5 separate regions of the Homo sapiens genome follow, and regions 1, 2, 3 and 4 are each linked to region 5. Evidence: promoter capture Hi-C in 16 types of primary human blood cells and fetal thymus (Javierre and others, 2016). All regions are on one chromosome and are shown on one strand. Each heading gives the region's core, a stretch centred on a gene start or on the middle of the fragment in contact. The rest is flanking DNA. Distances are from core to core; before and after follow the strand shown. Region 1 has its middle 2.3 kb from the start of LINC02175. Region 2 holds the start of LCMT1 (leucine carboxyl methyltransferase 1). Region 3 holds the start of PRKCB (protein kinase C beta). Region 4 has its middle 35 kb from the start of PRKCB. Region 5 holds the start of RBBP6 (RB binding protein 6, ubiquitin ligase).

Region 1 (2,722 bases), core at 171-2,670, 530 kb after region 5:
TAGATCGGATGAGCGAGGACAGCAGGTGCAGGGGCTGTGGGTGTGGGAAAGAAAAGGAGGCTTCCCCTTTGTCACCAAGCCTTCTCCCACGCAGCTGCTGGGGATTTTTCTGAAATGCAAACCCAGGTCATGTCAGTTCCTCACTTCAAATCCCTCAGGATAAAACTTGTACTCAAAAAATAAATAAGATAATTTCACCTATTGCTTAACATAGAAAATGGGAGCCCTCAGAATGAGACTCCCTTAACTTCCCCCAAGAAACTTAACCATCCTTTTTCACTGTTACAGTTGTGAATGTCCTCCAGTAACGACCACCAGAAACACTCTGTAGTCAAGCAAGTTTGGTTTATTACTTGTTGCAAGGAGGGAAGACTCACACCATGAGGAACATATCAGTAAGAGGATGTTAGATCTTTATAATTTGGGCTTTGGCTGGGTGATTTGGGGGAGCTTCCACGATTCACTGTGTGAAAGCCTGTCCAGAAATCTCTCCTGCTACCCCTCCTGACCCTATATCAGGTTCACCTAACATGCAGTTCTACTGCAGACTCCATGCCTCTGCTCACGCTGTTTTCTTCTGCCGGGCAAACCCTTATCGATCTCTTTAAGGCTCACCTCCTCCACTGTGAAAAACAGAAAAGCAAAACTGACTTCTAGGAGCTTGCCTGGTGCTGTGAGCCAGGCCGTATGTTTTTGGAAGCTGGCTGGTGCCCACAACAAGGCCATGTTGTTCTCCTATTGGACATAAACAATCATGCAGACCACTCACACAAGGACACTCTGCAGTGGTGATGATAGGAGATGACACGAGACCACGTCATCATTCTGTGTAAGGACAAAAGCAAGGTCACTGTGCCACCCACAGAATACCAGACATTCCCTTCTCCCAGCTGATAGGAGTGACTGTGGCTTCTTTACACATTGTAGCTTTAGCCCTACTCCAGCCAAACCTCTTTCTAGAAAAGATACCGCTACCGGATGATAGAATTTTCCTACCTCCTATCAGCACTCGATCCAGAGCAAACCCCTGGACCCTCCCCCAAATCACCCAGCCAAAGCCCAGATCCTAAAGGTCTAACATCCTCTTACTGATAGGCTCCTCATGGTGTGAGTCTTCCCTCCTTGCAACAAGTAATAAACCCAACTTGCTTAACTACAAAGTGTTTCATGTGGTCTTTACTGGAGGACATTCACAACTGTAAGAGTAAAAAAGGATGGTTAAGTTTCTTGGGGAAGTTAAGGGAGTCTCATTCTGAGGGCTCCCATTTTCTATGTTAAGCAATAGGTGAAATTATCTTCTTTCTTTATTTTTTGAGATGAGGTCTCACTCTGTCACCCAGGCTGGAGCCCAGCAGCGTGAATATGGCTCAATGCAGCCTTGACCTCCTAGCCTCAAGTGGTCCTCCCACCTCAGCCTCCCATGGAACTGGGACCACAGGCTCTCATCACCATACCTGGCTAATTTATATATTTTTTTTGTAGAGATAGGGCCTTACCATCTTACCCAGGCTGGTCTCGAACCTCTGGCTCAAGCAATCCTCCCATCTTGGCCTCCCAAAGTGCTGGGATTACAGGCGTGAACCACTATGCCACAGTTGAGTTTAGAATGTTTATTTAAAATCTTGTGACACTGAACTCAATGACTAGTTCTCGGAAAACTTACTTTTTAATAGTGTATTGTGGTGTAAGGCCTGAAATTAGGATTCATATCAAATTCTGTCTTTACATCCATTTAAATCAAGAGGGCCTCAAATGGCTGAACTCCAAGCCTCGCTCCCTGTCTGCTTCCGCAGATGAAATTCTCTGGCTAAACACTCTCCTTATTTTAGGGATCAGACACAGAGCCTGCTTATCCCCAAACAGTAGGCTTCAGTTCCCTGCCAGCTCAAGGACGAATTATTCAGACAAGCCAGTCACACCCTCCCGTGGGAACCAGGGCTCACTCTGCACTTTTGTTACTACAAAGCCTGCCTCCAGCAGCCCCTCCTTGTTACCGTGTTCCGGAGTGTAGCCTCCACATTGCCCTGCATAGTGTGCAGGGTCCTTCTCCCCTGGACTGGAGTATCTGTGACCAGTCAGCTGCTGTTGATTGCATCCGTCCTGCATCAAGTGTTGTGTGTTCGGCCATCCCCGTATCTCTGGGGGTGGGGACAGGGGCGGGGGCAGGAGCGTGGGGGGAAGGAATCCCTCTTTCATCAATGGAGTAAAGAGTGTGAATAAAACGATTGGCATCACAAACAGTGTGGCCCATCCTTGATTGAGGACCCCTGGTTAGCTTTAACTAGCTGCTCCTTTACTAAGTAGCTGGTTTTGTTTGTTTGTTTATTTATTTATTTAGAGACGGAGTCTTGCTCTGTCTCCCGGGCTGGAGTGCAGTGGCGCGATCTCAGCTCACTGCAACCTCCTCCTCCCGGGTTCAAGCGATTCTCCTGCCCCAGCCTCCCAAGTAGCTAGGACTACAGGCGCCCACCACCACACCAGGCTAATTTTTGTATTTTTAGTAGAGACGGGGTTTCACCATACTGGCCAGGTTGGTCTTGAACTCCTAGACCTTGTGATCCACCCACTTCAGCCTCCCAAAGTGCTGGGATTACAGGAGTGAGCCACCGTGCCCGGCCTAAGTAGCTGGTTTTATAAGGCGGCCAGGACTATTGAGAACATCACTGCCAGTTGCTGGCCAGCTTGCCCTTCAGCTAATGAGTTTTGTTATCTCAGTAGGTGT
Region 2 (2,859 bases), core at 33-2,532, 570 kb after region 5:
AACCAGGCGACTTCCCCAGTACATCTTGAATTTATACATATATTTTGTACTAGATTTAGTACAAAATAAATCCAAAACATCTTGAATATGCCTCATAATGAAACAGACACACGTGAACCCACTCCCACGTGAGAAACTGAGGATGTGTCTATGTGCTCCTTCCCTGCCTCTCCCTCCCCCTCTTGTGTGCTACCCTCCCGGCTCCCTAAAGATCACCAATATCCTGATTCTTTTTTATTTTTTTTTCTCATGTCTTGCCTTCTCTGTACAGTATTTTACCATATATGTACGTTTCTCTAAACAACATTAGTTTTACTTGGTTTGAACTTTACAAAAGTGTTGTTAGACTTCCTTCTTTCACTGAACATCGTGTTTCTGAGATTCAGCCATTGATGCTGCTACCTGGTAGCTCTAGTTCATTTATGATCGCTGCTACATGGCTTCCTATTGTATTACTTTTCCACACACTACTTCCCTCACTACATTTCTTTTCTTTCTTTCTTTTATTTATTTGTTTATTTATTTTTTTGAGACGGAGTCTCGCTCTGTCGCTCAGGACGGAATGCAGTGGCGCCACATGGGCTTACTGCAACCTCCGCCTCCCGGGTTCAAGCGATTCTCCTGCCTCAGCCTCCTGAGTAGCCAGGACTAAGGCGGCCGCCACCACGCCCGGCTAATTTTTGTACTTTTAGTAACAACGGTGTTTCACCATGTTGGCCAGGCTGGTCTCGAACTCCTGACCTCAGGTGATCGGCCCGCCTCGGCTTCCCACAGTGGTGGGATTACAGGAGTGAGCCACTACGCCCGCCCCCCTCACTACATTTCGAAGGCAATTTTGGGGGCAAAGCCCTCAGCACAGTCGCTGGCAGAGTCAGCACACAACAAAATTTTGTAAAATTGAATGACACTGAGCCCGGACTGAATGTAACAACTTACACATGTTGCTTCTGGCTGGATTCTCTGCCCTTTGCCCGAACGCTGAGGATTCTGCTAGCTGTTCCGCCCTGAGTTAATTATAGCTATAAAATTTCGCGACCAGCAAGCAGAAACCGGGCGACTTCTCCAGACACCTAAGACTACGCTTCCCAGAAAGGATTGCGATACTCTCCTACTGTTTAGTTTCTTTTTCCTATCGTCAAATTTCCGGGTTATGTGGGCGGTGCCAAAATAATTATCCAATGAGCAACTTCGTAGGCTGAGCGGGCAGGAGAATTGCTCAATGAGCGACTCGGAAGAGGAGCCAATAAGCGGAGAGGTTGCTGGGGTAGCCGGCGTGGGCGGCGTCACTGAGCCGCGCCAGCTGAGCCAGGTAGGGCCCTACCCTCTTCTGTTGCTTTCTCCCTGTGGCTCGCGCCGTCCCCCGCCGCCCGTCGACCCCGCTTCCATGTCCCTGGCGGACACAGCTCCCAGGAACCTCCACGCCCATGGCCACTAGGCAGAGGGAATCCTCTATCACCTCCTGCTGTTCCACCTCGAGCTGCGACGCAGACGACGAGGGCGTGCGCGGCACCTGCGAAGATGCTTCCCTGTGCAAGAGGTGCCTGTCGGGCGCGGGGTTCGGGGCCGGCATCTGGGGCGCGGGCCTAGGTGGGAGGTGGGCCTGCATCTGAAGAATACGCTCAAGGCTGGCAGGGATGCAGCCCCCGCCTCGCACGACCCTCGCTTCCCACCTGTGAAGTGCACGGAGCAGGGCTTCATTTATTTAACGAATCGTTTCTGAGCTTTTGCTGTGAGCCAGGCAGGGGGCCAGCCTGGGTATCGTCGATGGGAGCAGGCCCCTGAGCCAGACAGACGAGGCCTTGGGCTTCTTGGAGCTAAACGCTGCTGGAAAGACAGACATGAAGCAAATAGTAGCTCCAGCCTCGATGGGTTACGAGGATGAGAGGTGTAGGTTCTCTCTCTTTTGTAGGTTGCATTCTTTAGGGGGTTGGTGTGATCCCTGTTGTGCACCTGAAACTCAGGATGACGAGGGGAAATAACCCACCCAGAGCCAAGTAATATCTCTTTGCAGAGCCAGTACCGCACTAAGTCTCCACTGTTAAGGGTGTGGTGGTGGGGATGGGGGCGTAGCCAGCAGAGGTACGTGTCAGAGAAAGAGAAAGCTTGAGGCTTGAATGTCCACCATTTATTCTTTCATTCAACAAAATTTTTTGAGACCTTACTTTGTGCCAGGCCTTTACTTTGCAGTGGTTAGTAGGAATTCGATGGTGGAAATACACCAAGAACAAGACAGACATGGTGTCAGACATACTGGAACTCACAGCTTTGTTGGAAAAGAGAGACAGGAAGCAAATAATTACCTATGAAATATATAATTATGATTTTTTTGTGTTGAGTGCTGACAAATACGGCAGTGCCATTAGAGTTTGTAATTTTGTCAGTGATGTTTAAGGTGAGAAGAGTTTGGGCGCGGTGGTTCACGCCTGTAATCCCAGCACTTTGGGAGGCCGAGGTGGGCAGATCACGAGGTCAGGAGTTCGAGACCATCCTGGCCAACATGGTGAAACCCCATCTCTACTAAAAATACAAATATTAGCTGGGTGTGGTGGCGGGCGCCTGTAATCCCAGCTACTCGGGAGGCTGAGGCCGGAGAATCATTTGAACCCGGGAGGCAGAGGTTGCAGTGAGCCAAGATCACGCTATTGCACTCCAACCTGGATGAGAGTGCGAGACTATGTCTCAAAAAAAAAAAAAAAAAAAAGTGAGAAGAAAAGGCTTGAAAAATAGGAAAGTTGTAGGAGAGTGTTCAGAGGAGTGTGAACTGTTAGAGGAACTCAAAAAATGCTTTAAAGGTGGGAGAAGGAGGCTGAGGCCACGTAGTGATTGTAGAGTGGGGAAAACCAGTGTGTTGGATTAAAC
Region 3 (2,859 bases), core at 1-2,500, 700 kb before region 5:
ATTCACTTGTTCATCCATGCCCTCACTCAATCAACCAATATTTACTGGGGTCTTGGGAGGTGTCAGGCACTGAGCTTGGTGCTGGGCGACATGGTGGTGAACAGCCCCCCTGCTCTCACAGAGCCTAGGTCTGGTGAAGGAGCTCACAGCCTAATGAAGCTCTGCGTTCCCAGAGTGGGGGACATGGTGGCAGTGGGTATCTTTAGGCCTTGTGCATGAACAGGGCGCTAAATAACATTGAATTACACATTGTAGACAATTATTACCCTTTCAGTTACCTTCAGATCACATCAAGGAGAGAGTCCTGGTTGGATAGTAATGTCTTTAACACCCCTCTAGCATTTATTAATTTCCTCTCTTAACAAATAAAAGATGACTTCAGTCGAAGATGCTTAGGACAGATGACGGCACCTGGAGATATTTTAATAATGTAGATACCTCTTGCTGTTCAAACTCAGACCAAAAGAGATAGGCTTTTTTTCCCCCAGAGGGTGCACAAATACGACCAGAATTTGTGAAGACGAGTCAGAAATGAATGAAATTTGGAAAAATATTGATCTACTGAAATCCTTCCTCCCCACACTATTAGCCCTATGTTACAGTTGGGGAAACGGAGTCGTTTTGCAGAGGGGATGGACAGAAGGTAGGGAGTTCTCTTCCAAACGTGCAGGAGGCAAGCAAAGCCAAGAATCTTCTCTGTGGTGGAGTTAGAGACATATAAAATAAAGATCGCTCCTCCCCTACCTCTGCAGAACGTGTGTGTGTATGTGTGTGTAAGTGTGTGCGGCCACAAGCCTTTCCGAATGAGTGACAGCGGGAGCCCATCCCTCCAGGAGACGCGTGCAGAATGACCAATGGGATGGATGGGGGTGGATGGGTACCAGTCTCCGCAGAGGCCGGGGTGGAATTCGCTGCGCCCCACCCCTTCCACCCGCTCCCCTTCGCCCCGTAGGTCTTTCCACTCTCGCTCCTCCCCTGGGCACATCTCCTGAACGCAGCCCCGGGGGCCGAGGACGGGGTGGGGTGGGGGGCGAGGCTCGGGTCCGACGACCCCGGGCTGCGGTCCCGGCGCTGCAGAGCTGCGGCTGTGCACGCTTAGCCGCGAGGCCCGCGGTAGCCCGGGCGCCGATATGTAAAGCAGCTGGCAGCGCTGGGCGGGGCCTGGGCGCGATGCAAATGAGGAGGGCGGGGCTGGCCCGGGGCTCCGCCTCCCTCCCCCGCAGCTGGGGCCAGCGGTGCCAAGCGCAGCTGGACGAGCGGCAGCAGCTGGGCGAGTGACAGCCCCGGCTCCGCGCGCCGCGGCCGCCAGAGCCGGCGCAGGGGAAGCGCCCGCGGCCCCGGGTGCAGCAGCGGCCGCCGCCTCCCGCGCCTCCCCGGCCCGCAGCCCGCGGTCCCGCGGCCCCGGGGCCGGCACCTCTCGGGCTCCGGCTCCCCGCGCGCAAGATGGCTGACCCGGCTGCGGGGCCGCCGCCGAGCGAGGGCGAGGAGAGCACCGTGCGCTTCGCCCGCAAAGGCGCCCTCCGGCAGAAGAACGTGCATGAGGTCAAGAACCACAAATTCACCGCCCGCTTCTTCAAGCAGCCCACCTTCTGCAGCCACTGCACCGACTTCATCTGGTGAGCGCGCGCGCGCAGGGCACCTTCCCGGGCCCCCGAGGGCAGCGCCGCGCCAGGGACCCCCTCTCCGCGCCCTCTGCGCCCTCCGCGCCCTCCGCACCCTGGGACCCCGCGTCTCCGGACTCCCGGCTCCGGACCCTGCTGCCCGGGACTCCCGGATGGACAGTCCTGCCGTTGCCCTGTCCCCACCCTGGTCCCAGACGGGCCGCCGCGGGGCGCCTCCTGCCCTCTCCTGCTCTCAGGCGCCTCTAGAGCGCCCAGGGGCGGCGTCGCGGGAGCCTTTGCTCCACCTGACTAGGAGCGCGCGGGGTCTGTGCCTGCCCTGGAGGGCAGCGCCTCGGGTGCTCTCCGACCCGGGGTTCCCTATCTCTCCGCCTGCTTCCGGGCGCGAGGAGCCCTCGCCCCCCACCCCTTGTTTCCGGGGGGGGCGGCGCCCTGGGTGTCCTTCTCTATCTCCCTGCGGGCATGGGACATCCTTTCTCACTCCTCTGTGCCTCCGGGCAGCGCCCTGTGTTATCTCCCATTGCCCCTCCCCGAGGGCCTGGGTTCCCCTTTCCACTCCTCGGTCACATCACTGCGGGCCCCTTTCTTCCCCAGTCCCTCCAGTAGTGGGGCATCCTTTCCTCCTTCCCAGTCCCCCTCCCAGAGGACACCACCGCCGCGGGGTCACTCTCGCCCTCCCTCTGAATGCGTCTTTATCTCTTCTCTTTTCCCGAGGGTGCTCGGGGCATCTATGGGTACATCTGTCGCCTGCCTTCAGCCCCTACCCCGACGGAAACGCTCCCCACTATCCCGCCACCTGGTGGTCGCAGCCTCCTCTCTTCTGCAGGAGTGAAGGCAGATGGGGGTTACAGCCGAGCTCCCACCTACCCCCACAAAGGCGGAAGACTCTTGGGCACCCGCCTGTGGCTGGGAGTTTGCACCTGGGGTACAGAGGCAGGGAGGAAGGCGGGTGACTCTGTGGGTAACTAGCTGGAGGCTGGGCCCCCCGGGCTGCCTGACATACACCTCCTTCTGCTTTTGCAGGGGCTTCGGGAAGCAGGGATTCCAGTGCCAAGGTAGGCTCTGGGGCTTTGGGGATGCTATTTGTGGGAAGAGAGGGTGAAAAATACTTTATAGAAGAAGTTACTGAGTTAGGCAGAGAGTGAAAGAATCACGTTGGTCGGAGTGACCTCCCAGGCTAGGAATTCTTCACCACAACAGGGTCCTTTCAAGGGGTGTGTGTGTGACTGGGGCCGATGGC
Region 4 (2,700 bases), core at 188-2,687, 740 kb before region 5:
CAATATCATTTTTAATGCCGCTTACTAATATATGAAGTGCATGTACTATAATTTCCTGAATAAATCTTTTCCATTAGTTGGACAATTAGGTTGTTTCCAGTTTCTCTCTACTAAAATTGATGTTTCAGTGAAAATTGCCATGAGAATGCCCACCGTCACCACTCACCAAGCACTTATTGTGCTGCGTGGCTTCCATTCCACATTTATTTCATCCTCACAACAACCCAATGAGGCAGACGTTATTGTGGTTTATTTCCTTTTCTTTTTATTAAATTATGAAAATAAAATGTGTCTCTGTAAAAGCAATTCAAGCAGAACCAAAGGGGCCTAAGGGGAAAGACCAAGCCCTTCCTCCCCTTTCCCTCCAATCTCACCGCTGCAATTCCCCAGAGATAACACTCATACATTTCTTGTATACCCTTCCAGAAATTTTTTGTCCATATCCAAACACATTGGGAAATGGACTCTGTACTGGCATTTCATGGCATGTATTTTACTCTGAAACTTCCTATTAGTCTGAGTGACATATCTCAAATGTCTTTTTTTTTTTTTTTTTTTTTTTTTTGAGACGGAGTCTCGTTCTGTCTTCCAGGCTGGAGTGCAGTGGTGCAATCTTGGCTCACTGCAACCTCCGCCTCCTGGGCTCAAGCGGTTCTCATGCCTCAGCCTCCCAAGTAGCTGGGACTACAGGTGTGTACCACGGCACCCTGCTAATTTTTGTATTTTTAGTAGAGACTGGCTTTTGCCATGTTGACCAGGCTGGTCTCAAACTCCTGACCTCATGATCTGCCTGCATTGGCCTCCCAAAGTGCTGGGATTACAGGTATGAGCCACCGTGCCTGGCCTCAAATGTCTTTCTATGTCAGAAAATTTCAATCCTATGAGCTGGCTATAATTATTTTCATTTTACACTTGACTAAATGAAGGCTTAGGAGGTGAAAGACTATGCTGTTGAATTGCATTGTGTGCCCAGAAAAAGATATGTTGATGTCCTTCTTATCCTCCAGTACCCCAGATGTGAGCTTAATTTGGAAATAGAGTCATTGAGGTAATTAGTTAAGATGAGGCTGTACAGGAGTAAGGTGGGCCATAATCCAATACAACTGGTGTGCTTATAAAAAGGGGCGATGTGGACACAAAATAGACAGGCATAGGAGGAAGATGTCATAAGAGACACAGAAAGAAGGCCATGTGAAGATGGAAGATTGGAGTGATACATCTGCAGCCATGGAGAGATTGCTGGAAACCACCAGAAACTGGGAAGAAGCAAAGGAGTCCCCTGCAGGTTTCAGAGAAGGCATGGCCTGGCCGACACCTTGATTTCAGATTTCTTGCCTCCAAAACTGAAACATACTTTATTATTTATTTATTTATTTATTTTGTAGAGATAGGGTCTTGCTATGTTGCCCAGGCTGGTCTTGAATTCCTGGGCTCAAGTGATCCTCCTGCCTCCAATTCCCAAAGCACTGGGATTACAGGTGTGAGCCACTGTGCCTAGCTCTTTTTTTTTTTTTTGAAATGGGGTCTCCCTCTGTCGCCCAGGCTGGAGTGCAGTGGTGCAATCTCAGCCCACTGCCACCTCTGCCTCCTGGGCTCAAGCGATTCTCCTGCCTCAGCCTCTCAAGTAGCTGAGATTCCAGGTGCCCTCCACGACGCCTGGCTAATTTTTGTATTTTTAGTAGAGATCAAGTTTCTCCACATTGGCCAGGCTGGTTTTGAACTCCCGATCTCAAGTGATTGGCCTGCTTTGGCCTCCCAAAGTACTGGGATTACAGGCGTGAACCACAGCGACCGACTGGCTCAGCTCATTTTTTAAAAACCACCCAGTTTGTGTGACTTTGTTAAGGCAGCCCTAAGAAACCCAAACACATGTCAAAGTTTCAAAACTCGTAGGTAGCAGAGCTGGAATTTGAACTCAGGTAGGTGTGACCCTAAGGCCAATGCATTTAAACGAACAGGATCTATCTATTTTCTTTTTTGAGCGAACCCCTGTATATAGTGCTTAGCCTGTGCCAGGCTCTAGGCTAAGCATTGGCATGTATCTCTCTGAAACTGGCATTTCGCCTTCTGGGCAGTGCAGTAATTTCCTCCTTGAGGTTGTCTGGTGGCTTCCACCAGGGGGCAGACCTGGGCTTTCGTGCACAGGCAGGAAAATAACACACAAGGCAGGAGGTGGACTTTTCCCTTCCCTTCCCTTCCCTTCCCTTCCCTTCCCTTCCCTTCCCTTCCCTCCCCTCCCCTCCCCTCCCCTCCCCTCCCCTCCCCTCCCCTCCCGTCTTCCCTCCCCTCCCCTCCCCCCCCCTTCCCTTCCCTTCCCTTCTTTCCTTCTTTCCTTTCTCTCTTTCTCTCTTTCTATCTTTCTTTCTTTCTTTCTGACGGAGTCTTGCTCTGTCCCCCAGGCTAGAGTGCAGTGGCGCTATCTTGGCTCACTGCAACCTCGGTCTCCTGGGTTAAAGCGATTCTCCTGCCTCAGCCTCCCAAGCAGCTGGGATTACAGGCGTCTGCCACCACACGTGGCTAATTTTTGTCTTTTTAGTAGAGACGGGATTTCACCATGTTGGCCAGGCTGGTCTCGAACTCCTGACCTCATGATCCACCCACCTCGGCCTCCCAAAGTGTTGGGATTACAGGTGTGAGCCACTGTGCCTGGCCAGGAGGTGGACTTTCTGGCAGTTCCCTCTGTAGAGATTGTCTGTAGGT
Region 5 (2,700 bases), core at 78-2,577:
TGCTAGGAAGAAAAGACTAAAGGGATAGAGAAAGATCGCCATCTTATTTTAAAAAGATGGCCTTAGGAAGGCTTTTCTGGCAGGATGGTGATTAATTTTAAATCAAGTTCAGTAAGAATTTGGAGTGTGCTTGCAGGAAGTCCCTGGGAAACTCTGCTACTTCTCGGCTATAGGATCTTATTCTCAGTTGCCTAAATTCACTGAGCCTAGCCTGTAAAATTCAGAGAGGATGAGGAACATGGATTGTAAACGATAATAACTATCGTTTATGAATGTAATTTTATTATATTATGATTTTTTCTGAATGTAATAACGTCCCCATGCCCAAAGGAAAAAAAAAATTCCAATCTACTGAGGGGGTTCTTGTCACTGTTCCTGGCATTTGCGCTTAGGAATGGAATCGGGACCCTGCCACTGAGCAGGCATCCCCTTCTGCAAATTCAGAAAGTACATGATTGCTAGCTTCAGTTCCATCATCTATAAATCGGAAATAATGTCATGTTGACCACGTAGGGTTTTTGTTGTTAAATTGACATTTATTGAGCTACAGCTATTAATATTTCGGTGCATTGAGCCACGTCAATGCACCGGCATGGTCTTAGACTATGGATTTATGTGCATTTATTTAATCCAAGTAAACCAAGTACTATTTTTAATGGCATTTTACAGCCAAGGAGACCCAGGCACAGAGGGGTTAAATCTAGAGCCCCCACAGCCAGGGATCCAACCCAGACAACGTGGCTGCTGAGCCTGGCAATGTTGTTATGCGATCAGCCCTGTGCCTAGCACATAGTAAGAGCTCAATAAATCTGTATGGTGCTGGTGGCTGTTATCAGTTCTTGGCAGCGGCTGCTCCACGATTTCCACTTGTCAAGAGTATAGGGTAGCCAGTTTATTGGAAGCAGCAGCTAGGGAGCGCTTGCATAGCAACCATAGTTTTCTGCGTAGCAACCATAATGCTCACTTAAATTGGGAGGCTTAGAGGAGCTGACGGGGCCTGTGGGGAAGGGGGAGTTAGCCGGCCACCCCTAGGCAAGCCACTTTGCAGTGGAAACTGCACGCAGCCCCTGCAAGGCGAGCTCTCCCCACCGAGCCTCCCTGTGAGCCGGTCCTCCTGACGCGCAACCCCCCTCCCTTTTGAAGCAGATGGTTCTTCCCGTTGTCCCTGCTCTTTCAGTTTCCGCGCTTTGGAGTCACAAAGCGCGGGGTCACGTGGGCGGGCCGTGCGCTTTGTGACGTCAGCCGCCCCGCCTCTCGGCCCGCCTATCCGCGCACGCCAGCCCCGCCTCGCGCGCGCCGCCCGTGCAATCCCTGCTTAAGAGACCCCGCAGTGGGGCGCTCGTCCGAAGCCAGGCCGCGTCCGCCATAGTACCTGGCTTGGAGGTGTCGCCGCCGCTCGGTGAGAGCCCCCGAGCGGCAGGGGGCCAACACAAAAAGGGAGCCGGAGAAGCCCTAGCCGCTGCCCAGCAGCTTGCGGGCGTGTTCTCGCGGTTCCGGGCCTCAAGGCGACGGAAACGAAAGGCGAGCGAAGCGCGGAGGATCCGGCGAGAAGAAGCGTCAGGGAGCCTCGGCGGTGTCCCCGGGGTCCGCCGAAGCCACCCGGCCGCCGGCTGGGGCCCGGGGTGGTGAGGAAGTGCTCCGAGGCCTCGCCGAGGCCTAGCGCCGGCTTTGTGTCCGAGGCGGCGGCGGCGGCGGGGGGAGGCGGAGCCGGGGGCGGCCTGCGGGAAGGCCTCTCCTCCGCCGACCGCGCGTTTTCGGCCTAGGCCGTGGGGCCGCTCGTGGCCTCCGGGGAGCAGGCGCCAGGGGTTTGTGTGCGGTGGGGGCCTGGGCCTGGGCCTGGGGAAGCTGACGCCGGTCGTCCGGAAGCCAGGAGGAGGCGTGAGGCCGCTCGTGGACTCCGGGCCTAGGCCCTCTCCCCTCAACCTTCTCCCGGGGCCTGGGTCACCCCAATCCACGGAGAGAGAGACCCGCCGGGAGGTGCGGCCGCGCTATGGACCCCTGACCCCGTGGGGTCGCTCGGACTCTTAACGTGTGGACTGACCGCTACTGACTGCACCGCCAATCCCCCCGTCTCTGCCGGCCCCTTAGCATGAGCGAGGGGGACCCAGCCGGGTGACATTGTGCCCGTTGGCGGATTCTCGATTTCCCCTCTTCCCCGTCCTCGTCCTCCTCCTCCCCCATGAAGTGATTCTGAGTATCGGGGGGTCTCTGGATTATTGTTCTGACGAACCCCTGCTTGTGGTTGGGGGGTATTTAATCTGAGGCCTTAGGGTCCTTCGGTGTCTTTGAGTGTTTTGTGTGTACATATTTTGCTCTTAAAGTTTATAAATATACGTATATTGAGAGTGTCCACGTCTCCTCGCTGAACCTTAGGAATCCCTTGGCACCATGTCCTGTGTGCATTATAAATTTTCCTCTAAACTCAACTATGATACCGTCACCTTTGATGGGCTCCACATCTCCCTCTGCGACTTAAAGAAGCAGATTATGGGGAGAGAGAAGCTGAAAGCTGCCGACTGCGACCTGCAGATCACCAATGCGCAGACGAAAGAAGGTAAGGGCCGCTTGGTCTTAAGATATTTGGTGGCTGGAGAGAGATACTAGCTAGAAGGTGCCTGGCAGGAAGCTAACCGCCATTATGTCTCTAGTGGGGACTGTTCGTTCTAGTACTTTGGATACAACTTTCATTGATAGCCAAGG

What was found. The method cuts DNA at HindIII sites, captures the fragments that hold promoters and counts their contacts. A CHiCAGO score of 5 or more calls a contact.
Region 1: a fragment that was not itself captured here is called in contact with the fragment with the promoter of RBBP6 in region 5 in 1 of 17 cell types (neutrophils); the score reaches 5.1 in neutrophils.
Region 2: a contact is called between the fragment with the promoter of LCMT1 here and the fragment with the promoter of RBBP6 in region 5, in 5 of 17 cell types (naive CD4 T cells, total CD4 T cells, monocytes and 2 more). The highest score is 6.5, in naive CD4 T cells.
Region 3: the fragment with the promoter of PRKCB here is called in contact with the fragment with the promoter of RBBP6 in region 5 in 1 of 17 cell types (M1 macrophages); the score reaches 5.1 in M1 macrophages.
Region 4: a contact is called between a fragment that was not itself captured here and the fragment with the promoter of RBBP6 in region 5, in 1 of 17 cell types (neutrophils). The highest score is 5.7, in neutrophils.

The regions. Positions count from the first base shown.
Region 1 is chr16:25,063,250-25,065,971 of GRCh38, forward strand. No RefSeq gene overlaps it. Among named protein-coding and RNA genes, the nearest start is that of LINC02175, 2.3 kb to the right of the region's middle. The HindIII fragment of the contact is 7,036 bases long and covers 1-2,722 here.
Region 2 is chr16:25,110,460-25,113,318 of GRCh38, forward strand. It overlaps LCMT1 (leucine carboxyl methyltransferase 1), which reads left to right and starts at 1,283. Exons shown (of 11, transcript NM_016309.3): 1 at 1,283-1,537. The coding sequence starts at 1,425. It overlaps LCMT1-AS1 (LCMT1 antisense RNA 1), which reads right to left and starts at 1,096. Exons shown (of 3, transcript NR_120306.1): 1 at 937-1,096. RefSeq lists enhancers at 706-1,233, 1,011-1,340, 1,431-1,590. The HindIII fragment of the contact is 2,890 bases long and covers 1-2,100 here.
Region 3 is chr16:23,834,733-23,837,591 of GRCh38, forward strand. It overlaps PRKCB (protein kinase C beta), which reads left to right and starts at 1,251. Exons shown (of 17, transcript NM_002738.7): 1 at 1,251-1,616; 2 at 2,643-2,674. The coding sequence starts at 1,444. RefSeq lists silencers at 747-1,386, 1,417-1,496, 1,827-1,906 and enhancers at 860-1,407, 1,408-1,953, 2,217-2,356. The HindIII fragment of the contact is 10,190 bases long and covers 1-2,859 here.
Region 4 is chr16:23,799,485-23,802,184 of GRCh38, forward strand. No RefSeq gene overlaps it. Among named protein-coding and RNA genes, the nearest start is that of PRKCB, 35 kb to the right of the region's middle. The HindIII fragment of the contact is 3,056 bases long and covers 1-2,700 here.
Region 5 is chr16:24,538,239-24,540,938 of GRCh38, forward strand. It overlaps RBBP6 (RB binding protein 6, ubiquitin ligase), which reads left to right and starts at 1,328. Exons shown (of 18, transcript NM_006910.5): 1 at 1,328-2,554. The coding sequence starts at 2,389. RefSeq lists enhancers at 991-1,985, 1,986-2,700 and silencers at 1,275-1,324, 1,595-1,774. The HindIII fragment of the contact is 3,955 bases long and covers 1-2,700 here.